7 separate regions of the Homo sapiens genome follow, and all the other regions are linked to region 6. The links are contacts of gene promoters, found by promoter capture Hi-C in human tissues and cell types (Jung and others, 2019). All regions are on one chromosome and are shown on one strand. Each heading gives the region's core, a stretch centred on a gene start or on the middle of the fragment in contact. The rest is flanking DNA. Distances are from core to core; before and after follow the strand shown. Region 1 has its middle 540 kb from the start of TOX-DT. Region 2 has its middle 320 kb from the start of CA8. Region 3 overlaps SDCBP (syndecan binding protein). Region 4 has its middle 520 kb from the start of TOX-DT. Region 5 overlaps LOC105375861 (a long non-coding RNA gene). Region 6 holds the start of TOX (thymocyte selection associated high mobility group box). Region 7 has its middle 250 kb from the start of CA8.

Evidence for each region. Contacts are between HindIII fragments. The study calls those that stand out against the background at their distance.
Region 1: a contact is called between a fragment that was not itself captured here and the fragment with the promoter of TOX in region 6, in 3 of the 25 tissues and cell types used here (dorsolateral prefrontal cortex, lymphoblastoid cells and mesendoderm cells).
Region 2: a fragment that was not itself captured here is called in contact with the fragment with the promoter of TOX in region 6 in 3 of the 25 tissues and cell types used here (heart left ventricle, lymphoblastoid cells and spleen).
Region 3: a contact is called between a fragment that was not itself captured here and the fragment with the promoter of TOX in region 6, in 1 of the 25 tissues and cell types used here (IMR-90 fibroblasts).
Region 4: a contact is called between a fragment that was not itself captured here and the fragment with the promoter of TOX in region 6, in 1 of the 25 tissues and cell types used here (dorsolateral prefrontal cortex).
Region 5: a fragment that was not itself captured here is called in contact with the fragment with the promoter of TOX in region 6 in 2 of the 25 tissues and cell types used here (IMR-90 fibroblasts and lymphoblastoid cells).
Region 7: a fragment that was not itself captured here is called in contact with the fragment with the promoter of TOX in region 6 in 2 of the 25 tissues and cell types used here (lymphoblastoid cells and mesendoderm cells).

What each region holds. Positions count from the first base shown.
Region 1 is chr8:59,659,189-59,662,260 of GRCh38, reverse strand. No RefSeq gene overlaps it. Among named protein-coding and RNA genes, the nearest start is that of TOX-DT, 540 kb to the right of the region's middle. The HindIII fragment of the contact is 3,682 bases long and covers 1-3,072 here.
Region 2 is chr8:59,957,832-59,960,764 of GRCh38, reverse strand. No RefSeq gene overlaps it. Among named protein-coding and RNA genes, the nearest start is that of CA8, 320 kb to the left of the region's middle. The HindIII fragment of the contact is 3,620 bases long and covers 1-2,933 here.
Region 3 is chr8:58,568,135-58,571,157 of GRCh38, reverse strand. SDCBP (syndecan binding protein) reads right to left here. Exons shown (of 9, transcript NM_005625.4): 3 at 193-271. Among named protein-coding and RNA genes, the nearest start is that of SDCBP, 16 kb to the right of the region's middle. The HindIII fragment of the contact is 3,749 bases long and covers 1-3,023 here.
Region 4 is chr8:59,637,649-59,640,723 of GRCh38, reverse strand. No RefSeq gene overlaps it. Among named protein-coding and RNA genes, the nearest start is that of TOX-DT, 520 kb to the right of the region's middle. The HindIII fragment of the contact is 6,113 bases long and covers 1-3,075 here.
Region 5 is chr8:60,059,498-60,062,348 of GRCh38, reverse strand. The region is part of intron 2 of LOC105375861 (a long non-coding RNA gene); the gene reads right to left. Among named protein-coding and RNA genes, the nearest start is that of CA8, 220 kb to the left of the region's middle. The HindIII fragment of the contact is 4,828 bases long and covers 1-2,851 here.
Region 6 is chr8:59,117,811-59,120,590 of GRCh38, reverse strand. TOX (thymocyte selection associated high mobility group box) reads left to right here and starts at 1,444. Exons shown (of 9, transcript NM_014729.3): 1 at 1,444-1,705. The coding sequence starts at 1,604. It overlaps TOX-DT (TOX divergent transcript), which reads right to left and starts at 1,381. Exons shown (of 3, transcript NR_149031.1): 1 at 1,306-1,381; 2 at 520-634; 3 at 1-255. RefSeq lists a silencer at 700-919. The HindIII fragment of the contact is 9,409 bases long and covers 1-2,780 here.
Region 7 is chr8:60,028,108-60,031,125 of GRCh38, reverse strand. No RefSeq gene overlaps it. Among named protein-coding and RNA genes, the nearest start is that of CA8, 250 kb to the left of the region's middle. The HindIII fragment of the contact is 5,129 bases long and covers 1-3,018 here.

The sequences.
Region 1 (3,072 bases), core at 535-3,034, 540 kb before region 6:
TATTATTGCAGGTTTGTATGAGCTATTTTAAAGCCAAGAATTCTACTGTGTCCCTGATACAGCTCTCTATATTTTCTTACTCTTATGTTTTTTTTCCATAGAATGGGAGCTTGGTTTTGTCAGAAAGAAAACAAATTTAAACTCTCTGAGGCTGAAATCAAGTTAAAACCATTAAAAACAAAACTGTATAACCAATCAAAGACTAATACATAACCTACCTTGCCTTCTCAGGTACATTATGTCAAGTATTTTAAATGAATAATTTTAAAATAAGCATTTTTGTGCACTGTTTCTCTCATCCCAACTCATATGTTATCTCAGTAAACACACCTTTCTTTGTTTCTTTGTCTCTATTTTCATTTCAGAAATAGCAGCCCCTTTAGTTTAACTTACAGTCATTGTGTTGATAAGCCCAAGTCAATCATGGTTAATATAACAAACCTGTATTATTGTAGGTATTAATAAAACTTTAAAATTTATTAATGTTAGAAATGAATACAGTTCCTCTAGTCATCACATTATCAATACTTACACTGCATTTAGAATTTTTATTTTCCATTTATATTTTCACCCAGGTAATCAAATGAAGGCATTTTTAATAACCTATTTTTCAGAGCAGGTTGATTGATTATAACAAATGTAATTTTCCATCCTACTTGAAGATCCATTTTCATATTACACAAAACATTTGTACACTGAGCTAGTGCCAGATAGCAATTGCATGAAATAGCATGAAGATAATGTTTTTCTATAGGAGGGAAGAATGCATGCTTTTCTATTTTATAATATTCTGTAGAGGTCATATATGAGTCCTTGTATTATCTACTTTCCCTGACAATGCCATCATGCCATTACAAACTACTTTCTCTCTAGCTTTTCTTTTTAATGGGCCAAAGAAATTGGATACTTGTCTTAGTTGGCAAGGGCTGCTATAACAAAGTATCACAAACTGGGTAGTTTCAACAACAGAAGTGTATTGTCTCGTAATTCTGAAGGATTGATGTCTAAGATTAAGGTGTTGGCAGAGTGAGCTCCTTCTGAAGGCTGTGGTAGAATAGTCAACTCTAAGCCCCTCTGTTTGGCTTGGAAATGGCCATTTCTCCCTGAGTTTTTATGTCATCTTCTCTCTGTATGTGCCTGTGTCCAAATTTTCCCTTCTTGTAAGGACACCAGTCATATGGGATAAGGGCCTCTCCTAATGATCTCATTTTAGCTTGATCTTTGTCTACAAAGATCTTGTTGCCAAATAAAGACACATCTTGAGGTACTACAGATTCAGGCTTTAACATAAGAGTTTTTTTAATTGCAGAGGTGGTCAGTGGAACACAATTTGACCTATAACAGTTGTTTTAACTCTATTTTGTCCCATCTCTGGGCAACATATTTTATTGGACATTTCAGAGTAAGAAATATACTGGAAGAAGAGTGTTTTGAATGTTTTTAAGACAAATAGATGATAAATGCATGAGGTGATGGATCTGCTAAATACTCTGACTTGATTTCTACAGTGTGTACATGTGTTGAGACATCACACTGTACCCCATAAATATGTACAATTATTATGTGCCAATTAAAAGCAAAATTAGAAACTTTAGCTCTCCTGTGACAAGTTTGGTTAAAGAATTTAGGCTTGGCATCAACAATTCGACACAATTCAAACATTTACTCAGGACTAGAGACATGCTGGTTTCTAAAATCAGATGATTCAAAGATAAATAGGAAAAAGCGTCTGTAGACCTCAAGTGGGGTTACAGAGACAAACAGAATTAACCCAATCAGTGCTCTGTTATACAGGCACAAATGTAAAAGAGACGAGGGAATATGTGATTCATTTTTGGGGTACTCAGGGGTATCAGGGATAGCCTCATGGAGGTGAAAACACAGAATTCGGCAGGGACTGCACAGTTGTGAGAAGATAAGTTTTAGGGAGAGCTAAGTAAGGCTGTCCTCTAAGCCTCCTACCAGCCTTACATTTCATGCATTTAGTCTTAGAGACATTTGGTTAACTGGATTGCTGGGAGTGGTCTAGAAGAATGTTGCTTGCTAGAAAATGCATGTCCAGTTCCCTATGTGTTAGAGGGGTTGTGCTAGATGCTGTGGAGACAGATGTGAATATGTTGCTCCTGCTCTGAAAAAGCATGTTATTCGCCCATGCACTCTGAGCATTCTCCGAGTTCTGCCACACCTCTATGGAGCATGTGAGACTGGTTCCTGTACTAAACCCTTTGCCACCGGAATAGTATAAATGGCCTTCATTTTCCTCTAAAAAAAATACCAATTTCCCCCTCCCCATTCCATGTAGTTATTAATCATTCAAGCTTTACTGTTCAAAGGAAAACATTTATTTATTGGCTCAGCTAGCACTGAAGCAATATACTGATATGATTATATTTTGGTAACCATTGTCAATATTGCTGGAGGCATAATTTGCTCTAATATGCTAAAATTTGTGAGATCATTGGCTTTCACTAGGGTTTCTCTGGCAAAATCTGTTAGATTTTAGAAAAGATCTTTTAGAACATAGGAAGGGTTTAATAGCTTGACCATATGATGAAATGGCCTTTCTTTGTCAAGCATAGTTGGTTTCATTTATGACTCAATGTGAAAAGACAGGTTCCTAAAGAAAGTTTCCACATTTTCATACTGTTCATTAATATTTTAACTTGATTTTACTTAGTGCCCAAATGAATAACCCATGAAAAGATTTGATTTTATGCCATTAATTGTCGCAGATTTTAAACCCTCTGTAAGGGTCGACAGATGCAGCGTTATTATGAATCATAAGGAATCTTAGCAAGATGCATTCCCATTGTCACTGAACTAGTTAAAGCCAGTGAGGCAGGACTAAATTGTTGTGACATTTTCCCAGCCCCACTATTACCTGTCAAATAGGAAAAAAATTCAAAGCATCAGGACAAGCTTACGTATTGATGGGTTCACTCTTGTTATTAATTGAAGTAAATGGATAAGCTTGTCCATCAACAGTAACAAACACATCTGCTCATTGTTTAAAGAAAAATCTCCTTAACCTTCTTTTTCTTACAGGTCCCTGCGATTTGAAAAATGCTTCGT
Region 2 (2,933 bases), core at 58-2,557, 840 kb before region 6:
AAAAAAAAAAAAAAAAAAAAGGAACAGGGTTGAAAGCCAGATTTACCAGAAAGCCAAGGGAGTTGTGAGAAAAATAACAAGTTGAACATTTCTTTCAGTTCTCAATATGACCTCATATTGATATCTGTGAAAACAAACAAAGATAAGAAAGTGGCAGATGTTGTTATATTGCTTGACTGGGCCAGAACATGCTCTTCACGCTTTCCATATGTTAACTAGTAATCCTCCCCATCTCTGGAGAGGTAAGTACTCTTATTATCTCCACTTTACAAATAAGGAAATGTGGTACGAGCAGATTATTATTATTATTATTATTTGCTCACACTATCATAGCTATCAAAATATGAAGGTAGAATTTGAAGCCATTCAATTGGACTTCAGAATACATAGTTTTTACCATTGCACTATTCTCTATTTAGTAGAAAGTTAATTTGTGAAGTTAATAAAAGCAACTTATTTCCCTCCTGAATATCCAAGATACACCAAGACCAGAGAGTATTAAAAATTCTAAACATTCAACAGTGTCTCCCCATCAACTTGGAAACCAGGGGTGTTTCCTCTACCTTCCTACACTTACATTCTTAATTTTTGTTGTGCCCTTTTACCTGTCAATTTATCAAACTGGAGCAGCAAAGTATGGTCCGTAGACCAGCAGCATCAGTACAACTTGGGAGCTCGCTAGAAATGCAGTCTCCTACTGAATCAGAATTTGTCTTTACCAGGGGGTGATTCATATGCACATGAAAGGTTGAGAAAACTGCTTTAGATTGTCTTTTAGAAAAAAAGGTATTCACAAATGAGGGCCAGTACATCTTCACGACAAAATTTACTGCCCATTCCCACCTCCTACCCAATTCACACCAAACTTCACATAATATCACCTGGGAGTTTAGAAATAAATACAAATTCTTGGGTCCCTTTCTAGATGTACTGAATCAAAACTTTTCAGGAAAGAAAGCTAAAGTCTTTAAAAGTATCTTGAGTTTTTCTGAAGTGGGGTTAGATTTGGACACTTGGGTTGAGATTGTAACACCTCTTTACCTCTGTCTAGAGTGCAGAAGAAATGCATGATGAATCCAATTCATTTATCAAGGCTCAGAACAAAGATGGCCTTCTCTCTCAGGCTTTGCCTATGTCTTCAGTTAAAATCATTTTATTTCTCATCATGTGAAACATCCTTTGCTATTGTACCTATTACACTGTGCTTATTTGTTTACATTCCTATCTTGCATCCTGGCTAGATTTCTTAATAGGAATTCCATAAATTTTTATTGGATCAATGAATATATAACAAATGACATGCGTTATGAGCATATAGTACCATTTAGTAATAATGGTACTTTCTTACTATTGACCATGGCTGCTTGCTTTACCATCTACTATTTATTAGTGATAGAGTTTTTCATTCTTGCAGTTCCTTGCAGATGAATTATTTCATAGCATCATGTTAGGTTATCATTTTTATGACTAATATTTGTTTTAAATATTTGTTCTTATGTATAGGTGAAAAAGGTAAAAATACCAAATTATCCACTTAAATATATTTTATACATGGTTCATACATAATTTCATGTTAAGAAACTAACCAATGCATTTAGCTTTAGTTTGTTCTTAATTACAAAAAAAAAGGTATATAAGTTGAACTAATTCTCAAAGATCTGTTTGTTCTCTTTCTTAGAGCTTTCAGAATGCTCTTATTGTTTAAAAAATTAAAAAAAAACATGTTTTGGAAATTTTCTAAAGGAGAATTTCTTTAGAATCAGCAATGAGTAAGACTATACTTTGACTCCCATTTCTTTTCTTTCTTCTTAAAAAAAAAAAAGCATGGCCTTTACATAGATTTAAGGGCATCAGAAACTTCAGAGTGACTCATAGTAGCTACGTTTTCAACTTCCACTTCAAATTTCTGAATTTAGAATTTCCCTGTGGAAACCAGAAATTGAGTTTCTCCTGATTATTTAATTTATAATTGCTCCAGCTATTTAGCATGACAAAGTTAGCTGAAGCAATTTGGAAATTAGGCCGTGTGGTCACAAAATGACACCAACAAAAATGAATGAAAATCTCCTTTGCTATGTAATGTACAACTTCCTATTCTTAGAAAGGTGCTTCGCTACAGTTGGAATCAGATTAAATATTCACTACCTTGTTTAGATTCTTCTATTTATCCTAGGGTTTACTTAATTAACTCCACTGTTCCAATTGTAAAACACAATTGTCAATTTTAGGCAATATGATCAAAGGTGTAATTGTAGGGGAAATATGTAAGCTTTATATATCCCCTTTAAAGATAATCAGAGTAAATGTTTCCTTTTCCTTAGGAACAAATATACCTATTGACTGGGCCCAAGATGGGAGACCTTGCTTGAGGCAAACCTTCCTAACCATTAAACAAAACAAAGTTTATGACCCCAAACAGCTGTTACTAAGTGGAGGAGGAGGTTTTGTATAAGGATGACACTGAAAAATAAAACTAAAAATAGAATTTATTAATAAAATGTATAAAATTGTATTTTACATACATAGATAAAACTACACATTTACCTTACTTCAGTAGACGGTCACATTCAGAAGTTCAGAAGACAAAAAAATGTGAAGAATTTAGAGAAGTTCCAGATATAAAAATGATTTATAGTATTAAAAATAGAATCAATGAAATAAATACATAATGACCAGAAAACATTTTAGAGAAGAGAAGCACAGCTCCATTTATGTGTCGTCAAATCAATAGGCTTAAAAGATGTAAAACCCACCACACTTGATGAATAGCTTATAAATAAGTTTCCTCTTAGTGAACTAATCAGCAGTTTGAATCAACCAAATTTAGCATCACCTGAAGGAGAGGGCTAATTTTTAGCTAGAAACTTACAGGTTATATACAAGAAGAAAACGTGGCACTTGGAATAATCTTTTTTATTAATTGCTAAACATCT
Region 3 (3,023 bases), core at 441-2,940, 550 kb after region 6:
CCACAGTTCACTATCTTAATTAGAAAAAGGGTTATTTTTTGAAGTAAACTTTTTTTTCTTATTCATAACTATTTGAGCTTAACTACCAATTTTATGCAGCCTGTCCAAAAAAAAATCTTGGATTCCTTATATGAGCAAAAGAAGATAACAATATTTCTGTTCACAGAGAATGAACTCAAAGTATAAACCTACTTCCATCGTGAGGGATAGGAGCAGAAGCTTCTGACAAAATTGCTGGATTGGCAGGGTTTGCAGAAAAAGCAGTTTGAGCCTGAAAAAGAAAAGAAGAAAATTCTAACAATATGCTATACTTACTTTATATTCTTATATAATTTATAAGCTAAATCCAGTACTTCCAAAAAGAAACTAAAACAATGAAGATTTATGTAAGAAAGTTTAATTTCAAACACATCAGCAATACATTTTCCAAAGGAAATCTGCAAATCAAAACTATATTTGATATTCTAAATACTTTTAAGGCTATCACAAAAAAATTGTAGAAGTACCATTCTACATGTCTTATAACCAGCACTTCATAGTGCTGCCACAATAAATTAATATTTTCAAAGTGCATTCTAAAATGAATAAATTTTACATTTTCATTATTCTTTTACTAATTAGTCCAAGTAAAAATATTTTATTTGCATAAGAAAAAACCTTACCCATATTCATATAAAAGTCACATATCAGAAAAACACCTAAAAAATTAATACTAAGCATGTCCCACTGAAATCATCTTTATCTTCATTGCAGCAAGTATAGGAAGGGGTTTATGCTAAATACTTTTAAAATATCAGAAATTATGAAAATAGCACAGTTTATCACTGACATAAATCGATGATGACAAGGTAATGTAATTTGTAACTGTTAAACAAACTTGCCAAAATCACTCTGACACACTCTGACACTCTAGCATTTATCAATGCTACTCATGCTCAAGTATCCTCTTCTCAGGGCTGTCTTGATGGCCTACATCATATGAAGTATCTCACTGATGGAAATACTTTATCCTTTACAATTAGATCTGACTTTCTGAAATAGCTATATGTCATTAGAGACAAGTTTGGTAATAAGTTGTATGACCAATCTCTACCAACTTTTTACTTTATTGGAAATGTATCATTTTAAAAATGAAGTTCATAGTAGTATCTCAACCTAGCCCTAAAATCAATGTCAAGAGTATTCCCAAAGATGCTTGGAGATATGAAAGCTTAGTTTAAATAAGTAAAGCCTATGAAAGCTTTGAATGGTACTAAAATTATATGTTCTGATATACTTGTTGAGTCATCCTTTAATATTTATTATTTCATAATTTGTTAAACATTCTAGATTTAAACAAAATACAGCATGAAAATCTTTATAATTATAAATAACAATCCACAAATTGAACATGTGTTGAACTTTGAAAGTTCTTTCACCACCGATTAGCTAAAAGGAGCTAGTGGCTTGTTATATTACTTCTTGAATCATGTCTAACAAAAAAAATACTGTGCGGCACTGGGAAAAAAAAAAGAACTATAAAGACATGAAAAGACATGGAGGAAACTTAAGTGGATATTACTAAGTGAAAGAAGCCAATCTCAAAAGGCTACATACTTTATGATTCCAACTATACGACATTTTGAAAAATGCAAAATTGTGGAGATAATAAAATATTAGGCCAGGCACAGTGGCTGAGGCCTTTAATCCCAGCACTTTGGGAAGCTGAAGCTGGAGAGTTGCTTGAGGCCTGGAGTTCAAGACCAGCCTGGGCAACATAGGAAAACCCTGCCTATGCAAAAAATTGTTTTGGCCAGGCACAGTGGCTCATGCCTGTAATCCCAGCACTTTGGTAGGCTGAGGTGGGCAGATCACCTGAAGTCAGGAGTTCAACTGACCAACATGGCATGTTGTCATGTTTGTCATGGCCAACATGGCAAAACCCTGTCTCTAGTAAACATACAAAAATTAGCCGGGCATGGTGGTGGATGCCTGTTAATTCCAGCTACCCGGGAGGCTGAGGCAGGGAGAATTGCTTGAACCCAGGAGGAGGAGGTTGCAGTGAGCCAAGATCGCACCACTGCACTCCAGCCTGGTGACAGAGCCAGACTCCGTTTTGGGGGAAAAAAAAATTTTCTTTTTAAACTAGCTAGGTGTGGTGGTGCATGCCTGTAGTCCCAGCTACTTAGAAGGCTGTGGCAGGAGGATGGACGCTGCAGTGAACCATGACTGTGCCACTGTACTCCAGCCTGGGCAACAGAGCGACATCCTGACGCTAAAGAAAACACAAAAGCAAAAGCAAATTATTGGTTGCCAGGAGTTTCTAGAAGGGAAGGAAGAACAGGCATTAAAGAATTTTTCGAGCAGTGAACCTATTCTGTCTAATGCTACAATGGTATACAGTCATGTGCTGCCTGTTCTGGTCAATGATGAACCACATATACAATAGTGGTCCCATGAGATTATAAAAGAGCTAAAAAATTCCTACTGTCTAGTGACATCATAGCTGCCGTCACACAGAACAACTCATTACTTTGTGGTGATGGTGGTGTAAATAAGCTTACTGCACTGCCAGTCATATATAAAAAAGTATAGCATCTACAATTATGCATGGTACATAATACTTGATAATAATAAATGACTATGTTACTCATTTATGTATTTCCTGTGTTATACCCTTTAGAGTATATCCTTCTACTTACAAAAAAAGTTAACTGTAAAACAGTCTCAGGCAGGTCCTTCAGGAGGTATTCCAGAAGGCACTATTACCATTGGAAATGACAACTCCATGCATGTTACTGCCTCTGAAGACCTTTCAGTGGGATGATGTGGAGGTGGAAGACAGTGATATTGATGATCCTGACCCTGTGCAGGCCTAGGCTAATGTGAGTGTGTGTCTCAGTTTTTAACAAACTTACAAGCGATTTTTAAAAACTAAAAATTTAAAAAATAGGAAAAAAGCTTATAGAATCAGGATATAAAGAAAGAAAATATTTTATACAGCTGTACAATGTTTGTGTTTTAAACTATGTTATTACAAGAGT
Region 4 (3,075 bases), core at 230-2,729, 520 kb before region 6:
CCTGGCAACCACTGATTTTTTTTTAGTGTCTTCATAGATTTCCTTTTTCAGAATCTTATACATTGGAATCATACAGTATGTAGTTTTTTTCAGATTGTCTTCTTTCACTTAGTAATATGCATTTAAGGTTCCTCTGTGTCTTTTTATAGCTTGATAGCTCATTTCTTTTTACTGCTGAATAATATTCTATTGTCTGAATGTATTACAGTTTATTAATCCATTCACTTACTGAAGGACAAATTGGTTGCTTTCAAGCTTTAGCAATTATGAATAAACCTGCTAGAAACATTCATGTGCAGGTTTTTGTGAGGACATAAGAAACTGTCAAACTGTCTTTCAAAATGGCTGTACAATTTGCATTTCCATCAGCAATGAATGAGAGTTCCTGTTGCTCCACATTCTCACCAGCATTTGGTGTTTGTCAGTCAGAGAATTTTGGCCATTCTGGTAGATGTGTAGTGGTATCTCATTGTTGTTTTAATTTCTATTTCCCTGATGACATACGATGTGTAGCATCTTTTCATATGTTAATTTGCCATCTGTACAACTTCTTTGGTGAAGTGTGGTAAAGATAAGTTCTCCAACGTTAAGGAGAAAAAAATTTCTCTCATGTCAAAACCTGTTTTAATCATTTTTACAACAGTGTTTCTTCTCTTGCCATGGTAATTGTACAATATTTCTACTTATTAATATATCATTTCACAAGGAAATGCATTTTTTCCATGTTTTAAACAACTGCTTTACAATGAACTTTAGAAATATCATCTAATTTTAAATTAGATAATTCTGAATGCAAGAAGTTCTATACTTGCTAGATAATATAAAACTTCTGCTACTTTATGGTAAGATTTTTCAATAAAAGCAGTTTTTCAAGGTTAGCATTTTAAGGTACTAAAGACCACGTGATAATAGGATTTTTAAGAAAACTGTACCTATAATTTTTTCTAAAAATTCTTTTTTATGTTTTCATTTTAATTGAATTACTCCTAGTTTTTCCAAATGCAAATACATAATAACACAAGGTACATACAATTTTGAATAATTTAAATATTTTACTGAGTGCATAATGATCTGCTGAAATTAGATGCCATAATTTACATAAGCATTCAATATTGTTGGACAATTGGATCATTTTCCAGTTTTTGCTATATATTTTCGCAATGGATGTCCTTTTTCACATGAACTTTTATTTCTGCTTAATAATTTCTATCTGAAAAATTCTAAAAGTGAGATTGTAAAGAAAGTAAGTTTTCCTTTGACTTTTCATTTTATTTGGAATTTTTAATTTTTTTGACATTTGTTCATCACTTTTGAATTTCCAAATGTTATTTTGGTATTGCATTTTCTTTTGAATTTTGATTTCACTTCAATTGTAATTAGGATTGGATTATAGTTTGTCTAAGTAGTTAATTTAAAAAGTTATCTTCTCTAGCTGATTGGTTGTAGCCAATACTTAATAATATAGGGAATTTTAACATTTGCAAGGAATATGTACAAAGTGTAAATATTTTCTACTCTATCGATTTCACAAGAGCTAATTTTTATATTTTTAGTTTACTTACAATAATGGCTATGTGTGGTTTACTATCCTCTTAAAATATTTTAATATGGGAAGTTCAACATTTGCTAGGAATATGTACAATGTGTAAATATTTTCTACTCTATCAATCTCCAAGAGCTAATTTTTATATTTTTAGTTTATTTACAATAATGGTTATGTGTGGTTTACTATCCTCTTAAAGTATTGTAAAATTATGCCAACATTCCCTTTACAGATCACTTAAAAAGAATCACAAATTCAATAGGTACCAAGTTATTAACAATAGAATGGTACTCATTTGTCATAAGAGAATGATGCTGAAAACCACAGTTACCTTCTTAAGTACACAAGAAAAACGTTTTTTAAAAAAATATTGTTTGGGCCGGGCATGGTGGCTCACGCCTGTAATCCCAGTACTTTGGGAGGCCGAGGCGGGTGGATCACGAGGTCAGGAGATCGAGACCTTCCTGGCTAACACAGTGAAACCCCATCTCTACTAAAAATACAAAAAAATTAGCCAGGCGTGGTGGCCAGCGCCTGTAGTCCCAGCTACTCGGGAGGCTGAGGCAGGAGAATGGCGTGAACCTGGGAGGCGGAGCTTACAGTAAGCCAAGATCATGCCACTGCACTCCAGCCTGGGTGACAGAGTGAGACTCCGTCTTAAAAAAAAAAAAAATTGTTTGAAATTTTTAACCTAAGATGTCAGAAGCATCATCATCCAGAATCCCAACAATAAAAAATCAAGATTCAGTATTAAAACTGAAGCTAAGTGCTTAGAAAAATAAAGCTAATAGTGTTATTAGAATCTGAAAATGATTAGTTCTCAATCATATATCCCTCTATTTCTTCCTAAGTTCCATGTCAAAAATATATACCATTTCCAATGTAGAGTCCAAGAAAGTTTATTAACAGTTACATGTGTTTCATCAAATATCAAAATGAAGAGCCTCCTATAGCATATAATGTAAACCCAATAATCTACTGTTCTAAAAATATGTACTCAAGATGGAAGATTTCATTCCCATCAAATATTACTTTTGTTGCCACTAAGTTTCATCTGCTTATTATAATTAGGGTGGTTGGTTTGTTTTAAAAAGAAAAGAAACCTTGATTCATATTTCCAAAGTATCTTGGGCAATAGAAGATCAATGAAGAAAAGGAAATTTGGGTTTTGGCAAATGATTTTTCATTTTCAAGTTGAAAATAAGTAACTACAACCCATATACCCAAATATAGCCATCTTCCCTATTATTCTACAAAGGCCAAAATCTCTTTCAAATAAGCTAGTCCTTAAACTGCAATTCTGCAGCCAATTTTAAGAATAGTCAGCGCAGTTGAATTTTGCTTCTCAAAATCGAAGTTTTGAATTTTGGCCTGTCATCAAGGAAAATGAAATTGGATGTTCAAACCAAAAATTAGCCAGAAGCATCTGTGGTTTGCCTACTCTGACTTCTGCCTGAAATTGAGAAATTACTTGATGAACCCCAGTTTTTCTTCTTAACCCCTACATCATGATGAAAAATGGCTTCAGTTTT
Region 5 (2,851 bases), core at 19-2,518, 940 kb before region 6:
GAGGGAACAGGGGATGTTAAATGTTTTTGATGTTTACTTTTTGTTATTACTTCCAGTCTTAGGATCCTACTTTCACATGAACACCTGAAATGGCACTGAGCACCCTGGGACATACATGGTTCCTCTGGAAACAACACAAAAATACCACTTCCCTGAAGCCAACCTTGTCCTGATACAGCCAACTTGGTCACCTCTTACTTTAACTTTCTTCATAAAAACCCTAGTGAGTGTAAAAATGAGCTCTGCCTTAATTTTTATCTCCCTTCTCAACATTCTCTTCTTTTCCTGCACACAGGCCTAAGAGAAGGTTTGTGGCAGTCTGGGGAAGTTTTACTAAAAGTGTCCAGGGCATACATTTATAAAAATAATTTTGATTAATTGCCTGAGCTCTGAACTCCCAGAAGAATGGCTTTGAGTCCAGGTGGGTAGGTACAGTCTTGTTACTTGGGAGAAGTCAGTTACTCAGAAAATAAGGTTTATGGGTAGAGGTCAGTGCCTGTGCCAAGCATATAGTAGGTGCTCAATAAGTGTTAATAATAGTTATGATATAATTAATTACAACCTGTCTTGATAACCTTTATTTGTCTCATTTCATGATACCCAGTGCTTGGACTCACTGGAACAGATGGCTGGTGCTGTAACGGTTGGTGCTCTATTAATTTGCTCTTTCTACTCTTCTGGGAACACCCACTCATGTGCCTGTCAGAAGCTGGGTCACCCTTCTGGGCTGAGTTCATATGACATGTGCCCTGGAACCTTCCAATCTGTGCTCCTGTGGCATTTTGGACTTTGCTCACTAAAGTGCTGGTTACAAGGTTTTGCAATTAACCAGATATGGACCCTGAGCTCTATAAGAGCCCACATCTCCATGTGATTTGTTGTATGCTCCGTGACTTTCTCTTGAAGGAATGAATTGGATTTTGCTTTGGTTTGAGCAAGTAGGGAAGTCAAGAAGGAATGGACTTAAAACTTCAGAAGGGCCCAGACTGAGAAAACATTTGACAGTGGAGAGCTTACTTCCGGTTTATACTGAAGTAAGTAGCAGAATGGGAAGAGAAAAAAGAGCAGGATATTTCTAGGAAAGCTTTTTAAAATCCTTCTGTTCCTTATATCATAGATTTTTTCCCACAGACTTAGCAAATATTCACCATGTGCCCACAACGAGCCAGGGACTGTGGAAGGTTCTGGAAATGCATTGATGAACAAGATAGCCAAGATCCCTGACCATATTCAATCAGTCTTTTGCCCTGCTCTACACATAGATGTATTGTATCCTCTTGTAATCTGGTTCGACGCTAGGCATATTTCTCCAGATTTAAGTAAATAAAACTGCAACATGACTGAATCTTTCATTTGGTCTTTGGCGCCTGCAGCAGAATCTCTTGGTGGCATTAGCCCAAAGGGTCAGCTAATCTGAGTTTTTCATGTCACCAGGTTGGGAATCATTATGGTTTGATAGATGTTAACTTGTCCACATTATTCTCTTCCAAAATAGAAGCAGAGTAAGAAATAATTACTTTCTCTTTGAAAACCATGGAAGCTTGAGAACTAACATGCCCATTAAAATAATTGTAGAATACTTGCTTCTATTATCTAGTAGTTATTTGTTTGCAGCTTGGCATCCTGGGTTTGTGTTCTTCAGAGATTCAGGATGTTCTTTAATGATTAGGACTCACTGTGTTTATGATACATATTCACTCACATTTTTCAAAATTGATGTGGGCATGAATTGGGCTGGATTTAGTCTCCTTTTTCTTTCCAGGTGAGCTTAAAAATCCAAAGCGGGGGGAAACCTCTTAACAGAGCAGAAGCCTTGGATGCATTGTCCCTGCTCCCCCCACCCCACCCGTATTCATTTCTAACTAACGCTTTTCATCTCAGAGGGTACATGAATATGTAAGTGCAAGTGCGGCTTATTGTGAACTCCGAACAAAGAGTAGTGCTGTAGATTTCAATGTGTTTGGACCATAATGTGCTGCTTTCTTGATAATGGGCTCTCTTGGCATTGAAATGAAAAGCAAACATATCATTAAGAAGGCGCTCCATAAAAACTGTCTGTCATATATCTTAAGCTTCATTAGTTTAGATTAATGACTTACTTGATATACATGACAATAGGTGAAGCAAATCTTTGTTTATTTATTGACAATTAAATGTGGCTCTGACACGCATAAACAGGCTTCTCTCTGATTAGTTCCATGTTTTAAAGTAACTTTGTGTTATAAAACTTGTTAACTACAGTATCATTTTATTGAGCTCTGCTCGGTGAATGATGTGATCTACATTGAAAGGCATCAATATTGCAGCCATTCCTGGCAGTCACTGGAGCATTGTGCTCACAGATTGGAGTTGATATCTCATTGTACAAATTCAGGGACCCAGAAAATGTCCAGTTATTGAGCCTCTGCCCTGCGAGGACAATGTTCTATTCATGGAATCTGGGTCCAAGGTCACAGACTGAAACCTGAACGAAGGGTAAGATTCAAATTCGTTTCATGATTTTGCCGAGGACCTCCCTGAAATTCAGTGTTTTGAAAGCATGAAGCTTTTCCCAGAGTATCCTGTTAATGCAATGCAAAGAAGCATATACATAAATATAGTGCGTTCTAATTAGGAGGCCGCTAGAGGACCAAACAAGCTTACCTTTAAAAATAGATCTTGATAGGTCTGATATTATATTGATTCAGATGACATAAGAAAACTTCCAAGAACACTTCATAATAAACACACCATTTTAGAAGAGGCTGGGAAACCAGGGAGAGGAAAAGAGGAGGAAAAGGGTAGAAGGGCAATGTGGCATTAAATGTATCTGCATGCTTGGCTCACTGAAATATTCGTGGTTTGCCTTTCC
Region 6 (2,780 bases), core at 195-2,694:
GAGGACAATGTCGCCCACACCTACTTGGACCTCTCACCAAGGACACTGCCCTCAGAGATAAATCTGTTGGACGGCAGCCAAGAGACCCCAAATTGTCTCAACCTCCAGGACACGGCAAGTTGCAAGTTTCCGAGTTGGGGAGGCAAAGCGGGAAAACATGTTTGGCGATTTCCTCCTGCCACTCACCGACCGGAGAAATGGGGAGGCGGACTCCAGGTCTTTCGTGGACTGCCAAGAGCCCTATAGGGCGTCCAGCTATAAAAAGAGAAGAATCCCATGAAGGACAACAAGCAAACTCATATGTTATCCCTTTAGCCGGATTGTGTGCTGATGATTGTTTCCCTATTTACACTTCGAATCACCCCTGTGGTCTTTTGTGAGTCCCCAAGGCAGCCTCAGCCTTCGCAAACCGTCCAGTGGGGCACGAATCTCGGAGGGGTGCGGGCTGCAGGCGGCAGAGGGAAGCCAAAGAGGGGCGGCTTTTCCAGGCCGTCCACCCCCAGGCGAGCTGGTCCTCACCCTTCGATCGGCTCGAGTCCCTCGGACAGTTGCCCACTCACAGCGTGCAAAGGGGTCGCACTCCCTGTGGGTTCTCCGCCCTCAGAAGCGGCGCTGCGCAGGAAAGTCACCTCCACTACGGGCCGGGAGTAGGGAGGGGAGCACAGTGACAGGGTTGGGGAACAGCCGAGGAGGAGTGGGGGTCGCGGAGATAGGGGTGGGGACGGCCGCGGAGAGGGCGGTGGGAGTGGGGTGGGGCCGGGGAGGGCCGGGGGCGGGGCTGCGGGGCGGGGTGCGCCACAGCGCCCCCTAGCTGCGCGCTCCCCACGGTGCCCTGAGGCCGCTGGTGGCTCTGGCTCGGCAGCCCCTTTGTGTGCGACGCGCTGGTCCCGAGGAGCGCGGCACGGGCACAGCGGAGGCCTCCCAGGGTCCCACCGCTTCTGTCCCAGCCAGGCCGTGCTCTCCTCCTTCTCCTTCTCCGCTCCTCCTTTCTCCGGTCCCCGGCCTCTGGTTCCGAACAGCAGCCATTGGGCCTTGACGAGCCCGCGTCCGGCCGCGCTCCCTACCCCGCCCGGCCCGGGACGCTCGCCCCCCTCCCGCCCTGTCCCTTCTGGATCCCCGCCCCACCCCCCCACCCCCCACATCCCGGGCCTCCAAGGTGGAGAAAATAAACTACAAGCAGAACAACTCAGAATCTCCAATAAAACGCCCAGTACCTAGAGCCCGAGCGCGTGTGCCGGGCTGCGAGGGGCGCGGGAGGCGGGGATGGGGGGGCGGGCGGGGGGGACAATGAGCGCATGAAGTTACCTGCCCGGCGGCGGCGGCAGCGGCGGCGGCGGGACCAAGAGGCGGCGGTGGAGCAGGCTGCGCGCTCGGCGCCGACGGGTGCGCGCCGCGGCTTGGGGGAGAGTTGAGCGCTTTTCCCCCCTCTTTTTTTTTTTTTTCCTCTTCTTCTTAAACAAACCACAAACGGATGTGAGGGAAGGAAGGTGTTTCTTTTACTCCTGAGCCCAGACACCTCACTCTGTTCCGTCTAAGCTTGTTTTGCTGAACACTTTTTTTTAAAAAAGGAAAAAGAAAAGGAGTTGCTTGATGTGAGAGTGAAATGGACGTAAGATTTTATCCACCTCCAGCCCAGCCCGCCGCTGCGCCCGACGCTCCCTGTCTGGGACCTTCTCCCTGCCTGGACCCCTACTATTGCAACAAGGTGAACGCTCTGCTTTTGTTTCCACCGTGTTCTTGCTGCTTGATCCTGGGAGGGGAGCGGCGGTGGCCGGGCCGCGGCGGGGCCGGCTTGGCGGAGGCCGGTCCCGGGCGCGCTCGGCTCGCAGCCCGCTGCAGCCTGCGTGCGCTTGGGTAGTAAATATTGTGGAGTAGCTCCGGGGGCTTGCCAAACACCGCGATTGTGCGGAAAGTGACACGATTTGCTCGGATTCTTTCCTTCCTGCTGTTCGCGGCTAAGGATCCCTGCCTAGGTTTGCCGGGGGGCGTTTAAAAAAATAATAAGAGAAAACCGTGGAATACTTTGGGGGTGTGTCTGGGGTCCAGGAACGGAGGCAGAGTAAGAGAATTCAGTTTATTTCCCAGTTCCCCCTTCTCTCTCCCTCCCTCCCCGGGCAGTGGGGGCTCGTGGCACCACTTCCCTTCTCCGGATTAGTTGCCAGGGGAGCAGCCGGGAGTCGGGGTGCAGGGACCTGGGAGGCGCCCCTGCCCCCCACAGGGAAAACTGCCCCACAACTCTTTTGTTTTCTCAAACCGGTTCCGGCAGCCGAGCCCGGGTTCGGACACAGGTCCGCGGGCCAGAGCACAGCGGGGTAGCTGGGTCAAGGTTTGGGGAACAGTTCCTGTTTAAGGGGTGCGCGCGGAAATTGCAAGTTTGTTGGGAGCCGGGCGAGCACGTCGCGTTCAAGTCCAAAGCTCCCGCACTCGCGGAGCAGGGTCCGCGGCTGAGCTGTACCCACGGCCCGCTGACCTCGGGTGCCAGGGCCGCGGGGGCCCGGGGAGAGGCGGATCATGCCGGTGACCCGGAGGTGGGGCGCTGGCCTGGGCTGCTGCGGAGTTCGGCTGGGTCCACCTATAGGACAGTCAGGGGGTACGAGGGAGGGGGTTACTCTCCCGGCTTCTCGAACTCTCTCATCCCAGAGAGGGAGGACACGCAGGGACCGGTCCCCCAGAGTGGTCGCAGGGGCACGACTGCCCACGCCTAGGGCTAGTTGGACGTGTCTAAGCAGTCCCGTTGGATGAACGTTGGCAGAGAGAATTGAGTTCTCTAAAACGCTGGG
Region 7 (3,018 bases), core at 486-2,985, 910 kb before region 6:
TTTGAAAAGCTAAAAGATTTTTAAAGTGTTTGTTTGGAATGTGTCAAGAGTAGTTCTGATGTGATATATCTAAGGTCACATGCAGAATCACTGAAATATTAAATGCCAAATGGTTTGCAAATAAACATGCAGATAATTATTTTTCTTCCCTAAATTTCAAGTTGGCACTAGCCAGCACTCTTGCCAAATGTTCCATCTATTTTCTTCCATTCTCAGCATCTTGCATGCTACCGTCCACGCTTCTCATAGTGATGCCTCATTACTGATAAGTTGTAATATCACTTGGTTGCCTATGACATTGAATCCAAGCTACTCTGTAGACTTTTTAAGCCCTTCCCAGTCTGGGCCTACATAGCCTGTCTTCACTTCCTAAATCTCCCCAGCCTGCAGCCTCTATTCCTCTGAGTCTAAACTCCTACTTGAAGTCTCCCTACCCCATCTCTTCATGACATTCAACTTGCAGATCTCTTCTTCTCTATCCTCCAGACATTCTTCTGCTTATCTAAGTTTTATTCATCTAAGCACTGCTCAGCTGACATAGATTTGCCTGCTTCCTTGTAGATATCTTCTACTTCATTCATCGCTCATTGATCTGCTGTTTCCCAGTGATGCTTTATCATTTGATTCCTACCTCATAGATTAATAGGTTTGCAGAATACTAAGCTCAGCTTTTTAATGTTTATACATGAGGAAATTGAGTATCAAGGAATTTGGTGTCATTAATCAAGATGGCGCATATGATATCAATATAGTGTTTTGAAGGAAAGACATTGAGCTTCTCTTGGAATGTGGAACTTGTTTTACCTGTTGAGTACCTAAGTTGAAGGTTATTGGCTGTACAGATCTGCTGCTTACAAGGCATGTGTAGACAAGAGATCCTGTCTTGGAGTCCACTACTGTATAAGTGACAGCAGAAGCCAGGAGAATGGTTGAGAGAGCCCAGATAGTATTTGGAACTAGACAACGACAAGGACTGGACCTTGGGGATTTGCTGGGATTCTCATGTACTAGAATACAGCAGAAATCATGCTATTGCTAAAGTGAAACCAAAATCAGGTTTCTGGGGAAGCTAGGGGAGGAGAAGGAACAAAGGTGAATGAGAACGCTGGCGGGCAGAGAGGTGGAGGCAGGTGAGGGTGCTGTCCTGCAGTAGGCAGCCCATAGAGTGCACTCTCACAGAGACCCTGAAATGTCGCACGGAAAAGAGCGCATGCTCTGTATGCCACCATGTGCTACTCGGCTTTGATGTCTGTGTGTATGCTCTTGAATATGCATATTTAAAACGGTTCCTCTCTATTGCTATTCAGCTGTGATAACCATGCATGCATGGTTTTAATAAGACTTGGCCATAGTTTTTCAGTTGCAAAGGTATAGACGGAATCCATGTAAATATCTTGTTCTATCTCCAAATGATAAATTGGGTAACGATATGAAATTCGCTTTAAACATTGCAAGTAAAAGGAGTATGTGATTTAAAAAGTCATGCTTTGGAGGTACCGTATGAGCAAAATTCCTATAATCAATCATCCACAGCAAACTATTATTTAGAAATGATTTGAAAATAGATAAGCTGAAAATATCATATTTTAAGAACAAGAGAAAAGTGATGATGTATCAAAAATTACTTCTCTATAGCAACATATTGGGTTTGGGGTTAAATTTAGTGTTGTTTATAGAATCATAGGAAGTAAGAACTTCAAAATATCTCAGGAAGAAAATAAATATTGGTGAAAACACATCTTACTTAAATTTCTCTGAAACCACTTTAATTTCACTCAAACTTAATGTATTATCAGTTTAAAGTCAAACAAAAATATTTTTAACATTGTAAAGGTTTGGATTATTGCTTTAGAATGTTTAAAAATAAATTTTAGTTGGCTCAAACTTTTTTATTGCACTCCACACACACTGTACATACAAATATACACATAATATTATAATGTCAATATACAGGCTATATGGAAGAATATATTAGAGGTCTGAAATTCTCATATAGTGCTGGGTGAATCTGAAATATATAAATATTGAAAGGCTTATAATCTTAGAAGTTAATATCTGGAAGGGAAATTAAAGGTTATGCTCACTACAGACAAGTGAGAAACTGAAGCCCAGAGATTTGTTCAAGGGAGTAAAGATTTAGAAAGCAGTGCTAATAATAACATAACAACAATAGTAACAACAACGATAATAACTACTTCTATTGAGTGATTACTATGTGCCAGATAATGTCCTAAATATGGTAATATGTTATCCTACTCAGGACTTACAGGTAAGATTATTTTTCCCAATTAACAGGTAAAAAACACGAGGCAAAGAGAGTTAAAGAATTCCTATGTTCCAACTTAATAAAACAAATATAAATTTCATGACCTGCTTTTATGAGATTTGAAATCCAGAACTGATAATTATTATAATTAAAAATAATTCCAGAAAACGGGAAAATGCGTCTTTATTTTCAAACTGCACTACCTTCTCTCCCAACACCCTCTCCAGTCCCAACTCAAGAGTCACTGCTCTAAAGTGAACCATTATTTGTCCAGGTGTGGTGACTCATGCCTATAATCCCAGCACTTTGGGAGGCCAAGGCGGGCGGATCACCTGAGGTCCGGATATCAAGACCAGCCTGATCAACATGTTGAAACCTCGTCTCTACTCAAAATACAAAAATTAGCCGGTGTGGTGGTGCACATCTGTAATCCCAGGTACTCAGGAGGCTGAGGCAGGAGAATCGCTTGAACCTGGGAGGCGGAGGTTGCAGAGAGCCAAGATCATGCCACCACACTCCAGCCTGGGAGACAGAGGGAGACCCTGTCTCAAAATATTAAATTAATTAAAAAAATAAAGTGAACCATTATTTATGTATCCATTCTTAGGAATGTCATCTTGAGAAGCTTGTTCTTCCAATCTAGGAAAATTTGCTGATCATGCAGGCATCTTGGTAAGTATTGTAAAAGAACAAAAATGAAAAGACATGACCCCATTCTTAGGAAGAATGTAGTCCGACAGAGCACAGAGATA